Linked DNA regions of Homo sapiens: regions 1 and 3 are each linked to region 2. Evidence: promoter capture Hi-C in 16 types of primary human blood cells and fetal thymus (Javierre and others, 2016). All regions are on one chromosome and are shown on one strand. The core of a region is centred on a gene start or on the middle of the fragment in contact, and the rest is flanking DNA. Distances in the headings are between cores, read along the strand shown.

Evidence for each region. Contacts are between HindIII fragments. The CHiCAGO score rates a contact against its expected background, and 5 or more counts as called.
Region 1: the fragment with the promoter of LETMD1 here is called in contact with the fragment with the promoter of DIP2B in region 2 in 1 of 17 cell types (endothelial precursors); the score reaches 5.1 in endothelial precursors.
Region 3: the fragment with the promoter of SLC11A2 here is called in contact with the fragment with the promoter of DIP2B in region 2 in 2 of 17 cell types (fetal thymus and megakaryocytes); the score reaches 9.5 in fetal thymus.

The regions. Positions count from the first base shown.
Region 1 is chr12:51,047,066-51,049,765 of GRCh38, reverse strand. It overlaps LETMD1 (LETM1 domain containing 1), which reads right to left and starts at 1,439. Exons shown (of 9, transcript NM_015416.5): 1 at 1,288-1,439; 2 at 581-732. The coding sequence starts at 1,409. RefSeq lists enhancers at 656-1,194, 1,395-1,444, 1,195-1,733, 1,555-1,824, 1,915-1,994 and 1 more. The HindIII fragment of the contact is 4,204 bases long and covers 725-2,700 here.
Region 2 is chr12:50,503,544-50,506,243 of GRCh38, reverse strand. It overlaps DIP2B (disco interacting protein 2 homolog B), which reads right to left and starts at 1,259. Exons shown (of 38, transcript NM_173602.3): 1 at 1,004-1,259. The coding sequence starts at 1,103. RefSeq lists a silencer at 847-956. The HindIII fragment of the contact is 3,121 bases long and covers 27-2,700 here.
Region 3 is chr12:51,025,031-51,027,730 of GRCh38, reverse strand. SLC11A2 (solute carrier family 11 member 2) reads left to right here and starts at 1,347. Exons shown (of 16, transcript NM_000617.3): 1 at 1,347-1,421. RefSeq lists silencers at 967-1,686, 1,697-1,756 and enhancers at 1,162-1,773, 1,774-2,387. The HindIII fragment of the contact is 11,669 bases long and covers 1-2,700 here.

The DNA of each region.
Region 1 (2,700 bases), core at 190-2,689, 540 kb before region 2:
AGAGGGGTTAATTAATTAGTCCAATCGCACAGTGACGAACTGGGATTTGAATCAGGCAATCTGGCTCCAGAGTAGACACTTGACACGATACATATCTTCTCCTAGTAACTAAGGATCTCTGATTTGAAACAAAACATTTAGAAACCAAGTATTATGTAGGGCTATTGCCACTACAACATACTACCTAATATAGATTCATAACAAGGGTTAGACCTCATTTTCCTATGGGTAAGTCAACTGATACATCACAGGGCAGGTCTATACAGCCACAGATCCCTGCCGTGTGCAAGGCAAAAAATTTCTACTATAGCCAGGTGTGTGGTTAAGAAAGTACGAGAACATACCTATATTCTCCCTCCCTCATGTTGCTGTCATAAGTTGTTTCTCATAACATCTTTCTAGAAACATTCTCAAGAAGTGCTAATTTATAGGAATTAGTTTAAGGCGCAGGCATTTATGAAATATAAGATATCTCGGCTCACATCCCCATAGCAGAACCTGCAAATGATCTTATTTATGCTAACTCTTTGACCCTGCCCAAGAGCTGATTCCGGAATTTCTATTGTAGTTTCGTTTTTACCTTTCATGAAGATTGTGTACAGGACATAGAAGCGGGGGAAATGACGACCCAAGAAACGATGGTATTTCCCATTAATCGCTTTTGTCTTGGTTACCACATAAGACATCAAGTTCTTCACATCTGCCTTTGGAGAAAGGTGAAGCTTTGAAGACCTACAAGGAAGATCAAAGAGACTATCTGGGAATCAGTCCTAGAAGCTCCCTCACGCCTTGAGTCCCTAATGTAAAGCAGGAGTCTCGGAGATTGTATCCCAAGGCTTGACACTTCTGAAATCCAAGGAAGGTCTTGGGGTCAAGAAGAGATAGGCAATCAGACTGTGAAACACAAATCAGGCAAAGGCCAGGCAGGAAAGTAACTCAGGGTATGCCTCTGGAGAGAGCGCAATGCCTGTGGGACAATTTGAACTGCAGGCTAAGTCAGAAAGAGGTGGAATCGAGATAGCAGCGGTAAAACCTGAGCCGAAAAAGTGAGGCTGAAAGATGAGCTCAGGACACGCGGGGAAACCAGACAATATGGGGCACTGAGAGTACAGAGGGTCAGGAAGCCGGGTCACTAGTGGGGATCGGAGTTTGAATCCTGAACAGAAGAATAAAAATTCCAGGGCCAAGGCGTGGAACTCTGAGAATTAAGAGACAGAATGCAAGCAAGGTTGAGACACTGAAAGAGCCTGGACGTCAAAAATGCTTTTCTCGCTACAGGTCCCTCACCGAGGGGCCCCCCAAGCCAGGCCAGAGCGACCAAGTTGCAGCCTCCGGGTGACAAAATGTCCAGGGGTGACTGCCGAGCCCCACACAGCCGACCGAGCCCAGCACACCCTGGAGAGCGCCATCTTCACAGCGAGAGAAGCGGGAGAGAAGAGGTTGTCTTTGGGTCAAAGTTAACCGTACGTCGCGTTCGTTCGAAGACGCATGCGTCTTTTCTGAGCGCTGATTGGTAGCCATAGCCTGCTTGGCTCCAGCACAAGCCAGGAGAGGGAAGGACTCAAAGACTAAGTGCGGAAGGAGGGCCAGGATTGGACACAGCAGTACTTCCAGGTTTAAAGGCGCCGGAAACAGGGTGTCCCAGAGGGAGCGAGTTCTTATGCCACTGGTGTGGGTTTGCGACGCGGAGGGCACCCTGTCCTTGAGGCGCCCAGTGACCCTCCGCGATTCCTTAGGGCCTCAGGGCTTCCCAGCGCCGCCCTTGCCCTCTGCCTGGACTCGGGGCGTCGGAGCCTCGACTGTTAGGTAGCAGATGTCAGTTTGCCAGTGCCTGGGGCTAGGAGGACCCGCGGCGCCCTCTAATGGTGCCGGCGTGGATAGGCCGGGAACTGTCCACTTTCCAGTCAGTCTGGCGGCGAAGGTTGGAGGCCTGGGAGCGGCCCCTGTGCGGACTGAGTACACTTTTTCCTCTCTTTGTCGTTTCCAGAACTAAGTTTGTGGGAAAATGGTTTTCGTTAAGCACCTACCGAAGACCAAGCTCTGTCTCAACTTAAATGTTACTATTCTGAGAGGATTTCTGTGACCACCCTATCTGAAGCAGTGCCGGCGAAAAGGACACACTTCACACTTATTCTCATGTTACTCTGTTTTGTTTTGTTTTGTTGTTTTGTTTTTGTGACAGTTTTGCTCTGTCGCCCCGGCTGGAGTGCAGTGGCGCGATCTTGGCTCACTGCAGCCTCCGCCTCCCGGGTTCAAGCGATTCTCCTGCCTCAGCCTCCCGAGTATCTGGGATTACAGGCGTCCGCCACCACGCCCGGCTAATTTTTGTATTTTTAGTAGAGACGGGATCTCACTATGTTGGTCAGGCTGGTCTTCAACTCCTGGCCTCAAGTGATCCGCCAGCCTTGGCCTCCCAAAGTGCTGGGATTACAGGCGTGAGCCACTGCACCCGGCCTTGTATTTTCTTTGTAGCATCTGTCACTTACAGTGTTTATGTATTTGTGTCCTTGTTTGACAGCTCCCTGAACTAGAATGAGGGTAAGCATCTTCTCTGCCTTGTTCATTGCTGCACCTCCAACACTAGGTGCCTTACTTAGCACATAGTAGGTGTTCAGTAAACATGTTTGAATAGATTCATACTTGAAACTAAGAAGGATTCCCAGAAGTGGTACTTAACTGCCTCCAAGAATTAACAGTCCT
Region 2 (2,700 bases), core at 10-2,509:
CACAATCAAAGTACTGGTATCAAGCTTGGAGAAAATGCTGCTTTTGTCTCAGGGGCAGCCAGTGATAAAAACAGGAACTTTACACAGAACTGATCACAACTGCCCCAGAAGCCTGATCACATGCCCACAACGGAGCACTGTGTTTCTCTCATTGTTGTACAAGGAGTTCTCTAATAACAGTGGCTTGATTTATCCCATTTTTTTTTTTTAATTCTGAAAATAAATCGAACCCTCCCTGTCCCAATCCATTGTCAAAAGAAAGAATGCCAGCCAGGATTTGCAAGTAAACGGTAGCCTCCTCTCCTTCCTTCATCAAAGACTCCAAAAGGTGACCAGATGCGGAAAATTCGGCCCGAATAACAGGCACCAGGAAAAAAAAAAACTTCTTATGACAAAGGTGGTCTAAAAGCAGCACCGTGTGTCTCTCTGGGTTAATGCCATTGCTTCTTATCTTCCTAGGACCCTAAATGGCTCACCCGCTTGTGTCTCACTCCTGTCACTGGGGAGGCATCGCGCATTGTTAAAGGAAAGAGAAGAAATGATGCTGCGGATTTCCCATGTGTCTCTTTTTGAAAGGGGGAAGGGGGGGCTGGAACAAGGCGTGGAGCCCTCCACGAAAAGGGGAGAGGAAAGGAGAAAGCTGTCAGCCACCCTCCTCGCAGCCCTACCCCTCACCCCACCTGGGCCAGACGCCTGGGCAGAAGCGGGAGGGCGCAGCTTTGTCTCGGGTTTTGGGGGGCAGGAAGCGCAGAAGCAGTGTGGGCCCGGGAGGACCTTTCCACAAGCCCTTACTTAGTCCCCTCCATGGGAAAACAATGAAAGCCACAGGAAACCACTTAATGGGGTGGGAGAGGAGGGAAAACGGTCGTGGAGCGCCAGGCCAGGTTCTCTACACCCTCGTCCCCCTCGCCGCACGGCCGCCAGAGCGCGCGGCGGGGACCTGTCTCCCAAGTCGCCGCGATCCGCAGGGCCCCGGGCGCCCTCTCCCCGGCCCGGCTCCTACCCTCCGAGAGCTCCAGCTCCAGCTCCGCCAGCTGCGCCCGCACTTCAGGCGGCAGCGCCGCCACCGCGGCCGGCGACGGCTCCAGGCCTCGTTCCGCCATCCCAGCTCCGCCAGCCACACTCCGGAAGACAAGAGAGGGGGCCGAAGGAGGGACGGACAGACACGGGCCCACACCCGGCTACAGGATCCGGCTCCGGCCGCCGAGCACCACCAGCACCGCCGCCGCCGCCGCCGCCGCCATGAGCAAAGGTCACGTGAGCGCGACGGCCCCCGCCCCCCGGCCAGGAGGACGCACCGCCTCTCCAGCCCAGTCAGGCTGAAGACGCATATGCTTACGGCGCCCTCTACTGGGAAGCTACCAGAACGACGGGCCCAAGCCCACCACTCGAATTTCCCTGCGCGAAATGGGCTCATGGTATGGACTGTCGGCTTTACCACAGTAGTGTGGACACATAGCATTTACCTTTCACTCTCGAGCAAGTTTTTAGGGGTCCCAGGCCTTACTTTTTCCAATACTAGACTTAGCAATGTATGTCTATCGTGTCCTTTACTCCATTTTCCCTGATTAATACCTGCCCATTTATAAAAACCTAATCACAGGCCACCTCCTTCGCTGTGGCTCCTGGTCCTATCTGCCAGGAGCTCTGTTTCCGTTTCAGTTTTAGCTTTTAAAAAGACAGGCGCGGTGGCTCTCGCCTGTAATCCTAGCACTTTGGGAGGCTGAGGCTGGTGGATCACCTGAGGTTAAGAGTACCAGGCTAGCCGACCGGGCGCGGTGGCTCACGCCTGTAATCCCAGCACTTTGGGAGGCCGAGACGGGTGGATCACGAAGTCAGGAGATCGAGACCATCCTGGCTGACACGGTGAAACCCCGTCTCTACTAAAAGTACAAAAAATTAGCCGGGCGTGGTGGCGGGCGCCTGTAGTCCCAGCTACTCGGGAGGCTGAGGCAGGAGAATGGCGTGAACCCGGGAGGCGGAGCTTGCAGTGAGCCAAGATCACGCCACTGCACTCCAGCCTGAGCGTGAGCGCGAGACTCCGACTCAAAAAAAAAAAAAAAAGAGTACTAGGCCAGCCTGGCCAACATGGTGAAACCCCGTCTCCAATAAAAATACAAAAATTAGCCGGGCGTGGTGGCGGATGCCTGTACTCCTAGCTACTCAAGAGGCTGAGGCAGGAGAATCACTTGAACCCAGGAGGCAGAGGTTACAGTAAGCTGAGATCGCGTCATTGCACTCCAGCCCGGGCAAGAGAGCAAACACTCCGTCTAAAGAAAAGAAAAAGACAATAGAGAGCAGGTCCACTTCTTTCTTTCTATACTTCTAACTACTTACAAGGAGGGAACTTACTTTAACTCATCCTCCTCACTCTGTGGCCTAATAGGTGTTCCAAAAACATTAATTTTAATTTAATATGAAGAGGGTCCAAGGCTAGGTGCAGTGGCTCACACCTATGATCCCAGCACTTTGGGAGGCCAAGGTGGGCGGATCACCTGAGGTCAAGAGTTCGAGACCAGCCTGGCCAACATGGCGAAACCCCGTCTCTACTAAAAACACAAAAATTAGCCGGGAGTAGTGGCACATGCCTGTAATCCCAGCTACCTGGGGGAGCTGAGGTAGGAACGTCGCTTGAACCCGGGAGGCCAAGGTTACAGTGAGCTGAGAACATGGCGGCTGCGCTCCAGCCTGGGCAACGCA
Region 3 (2,700 bases), core at 98-2,597, 520 kb before region 2:
AGGGTGGCGGGAGGATCTAATGTTTTTGGTGGCTGTAAACGACATTGCAGAAAATTACGGTAATTTGTTAGGCCATTTATTCCCTCTTCACCAGTTTGGCAGTCTCATCTTCAGAGCAAAAGATACGGTGTGAGGCTGAAACTGGCGATAGAGTGGGATTGCTTTTGGGTAGGTAGGATGAAGTCTGGGGAGAATCGAGTCAGCTGGGCGAGGAGGAAAACAATTCACTACGGAGGCTTGGGAGGACACCTAAGGCGGTCAAACTGGCTGCACTAGCTGATGTTTCTCGGTTCCTCCCAGGTGTGGGGTGCTCTTGGTGGGGCAGCAGATACTATGATGTGGCTCTGGGGGCGCGAGGAAATGTTCCTTCCAGGTGGCTATCCTTTTTTTTTGAGACAGGGTTTTGCTCTGCCACCCAGGCTGGAGTGCAGTGGCACGATCTTGTCTCACCGCAGCCTCCACCTCCCAGGCCCAAGTGATTCTCCCACCTCAGCCCCCGAGTAGCTGGGACCACAGGCGGGCGCCGTGATGCCTGGCTAATTTTTTTTTTTTTTTAGACGGAGTTTTCGCTCTTGTTTCCAAGGCTGGAGTGCAATGGCGCGATCTCGGCTCACTGCACCTCCGCCTCCCGGGTTCAAGCGATTCTCTTGCCTCAGCCTCCCGAGTAGCTGGGATTACAGGCATGCGCCACCACGCCCGGCTAATTTTGTATTTTTAGTAAAGACGGGGTTTCTCCATGTTGGTCAGGCTGGTCTCAAACTCCCGATCTCAGGTGATTCGCCCGCCTGGGCCCTCCAAAGTGCTGGGAGTACAGGCGTGAGCCACCGCGCCCGGCCTTTGCTTGGCTAATTTTAAAATTTTTTGTAGAGACCGGGTCTCACTATGTTGCCCAGGCTGGTATCGAACTCCTGGACTCAAGTGATCCTCCCGCCTCGGTCTCCCAAAGTGCTGGGCATTACAAGTGTGAGCCTCCGCGCCTGGCCTGGCTACCCTTTACAGGATAGAGCTATACCTCGTAGCTTGATTGTCAGTACCTAACGTGGCGCCACGGCGAACTAGGGCAGGAATCTTATCTGTCCCCAGACTGCTAGCGGACTGGAGCTCCCCAGTCCAGGGGCTGTGTGGGTCTGGCCAACGCAAGCAGCAACTAGGCAGCATGCAGCTCCCGCCGGGTGCCCCAGGGGCCGCCGCGTGCCCCAGGGGCCGCCGCATCCAGACTCCGCGTGGGCGGAGCCTAGGTCCCTGGTCTGCGGGCCACGCATCCCGGCCGCTGCAGGGACTCCAGCCAATAGGGATGTGCGGCTGCCGTCCTGTCGACCAATCGCGGGGAGGGGAGGGCGTTAGCCAGCGTGGCGCTGGCTCCCGGAATATGGAGCCCTGGGCGCGGGGGCGGCGTGTCAGGTGGTTGCGGAGCTGGTAAGGTGAGGGGAAGGCAAGGTCAGGGGTCACGGCATTCCGCTCGCTGGCAGGGAGGGGCGCGGGGCGGCTCGAGGGCCTGTGTCGGGGGTCAGGCTCCGGGGCTAGGATGCGACACCGGCTCGCCGTGCGGGGCTGTGAGGGGAGGTGTGGCCAGGGAGGGCCTCAGGCCCAGAGTCCAGGACTGATGGAGTCGCGCCATTCAGAGAAAGACCCAAAGATGGGGGCAGGGAGGGAACGCCGGAGGTCGCGGGGGTCTCGCCCCTTCCCCGCCGCGGCCTAGGACACATGGCCCAGCTCCCAGCTGCACCGGATGGCGCGCCCGGCCTGTGTCGGGGTGCGCTGACCTGCTTCGACGCCTCGAAAGAGGCCGACGGGCACAGGGCAAGGTCTTTCGTGGCCTCTTCGTCGGCGCCGCAGGGGGCCGGGCTGCTCTCCGGGGCCTCCCGCCGCCCCGCTTCAACAAAAGACTCATTATAACCTAACCGACTTCAGGGAGCGCCTTCTGTGTGAATAGCCTGCATACGCGGCTCAGTAATTGTGGGTAGATTGGTTTTAAGGCTGTTTGTGTAGCTCTCAGGGACCCTCTGGATTCCAGGCTCCAATGAGCAGGGTTTTTCTACAGGGGGATATTGCACATATGTAAGTGGGCTGGATGGCTCTCCCAGCTGTGCGTTTCATGTGTCCCCACTTTTAAAGCTACCGCTTAAATGTGACATCTCTTGCAAAAGCAAAAATTATATGGAAGGAGAGTTTGCAAGGGGAGATAGGCTTCTAAAAACTTGCTGGCCTCAATTTTAGTGACTGTTGGTGAAAAATGGAGAAGCTATGTTTACACTGACTTCTGGAACCCGAAGCCCCACCAGTTCGCATGATTTCTTGGCTTTGTAAATCTTTGAGCATGTTGTTTGCCTCTTTCTTCTTTTGTTCCACGTACTTAAAATGGGGATTGATAATATCAGTCTTACAGGGTTGTTGGTATGAAATTAGTTAATAAACAACAAAGTACTTAGAACTCTTGATGTGGAGGAGTTTTTGTTGTTGTTACCTTCTTTCCCCTTAACACTTCTAAAGAATTCTAACCTTATTACTTATTCTTTGCTCAGAGTCTCATGACTTATCACCAGTGAACCCGCCGGCCTATACTTTCCATTGACATCATTAACTTTGATCTGAGGGTATAGTGTAGTTATATGTGACTAGAGGATTTCTGCTGCGTGTTTGTTTTATTAAATACGGTTGGAAACTATCATTATACTAGGTCATTTATTGTGATACCTGTGT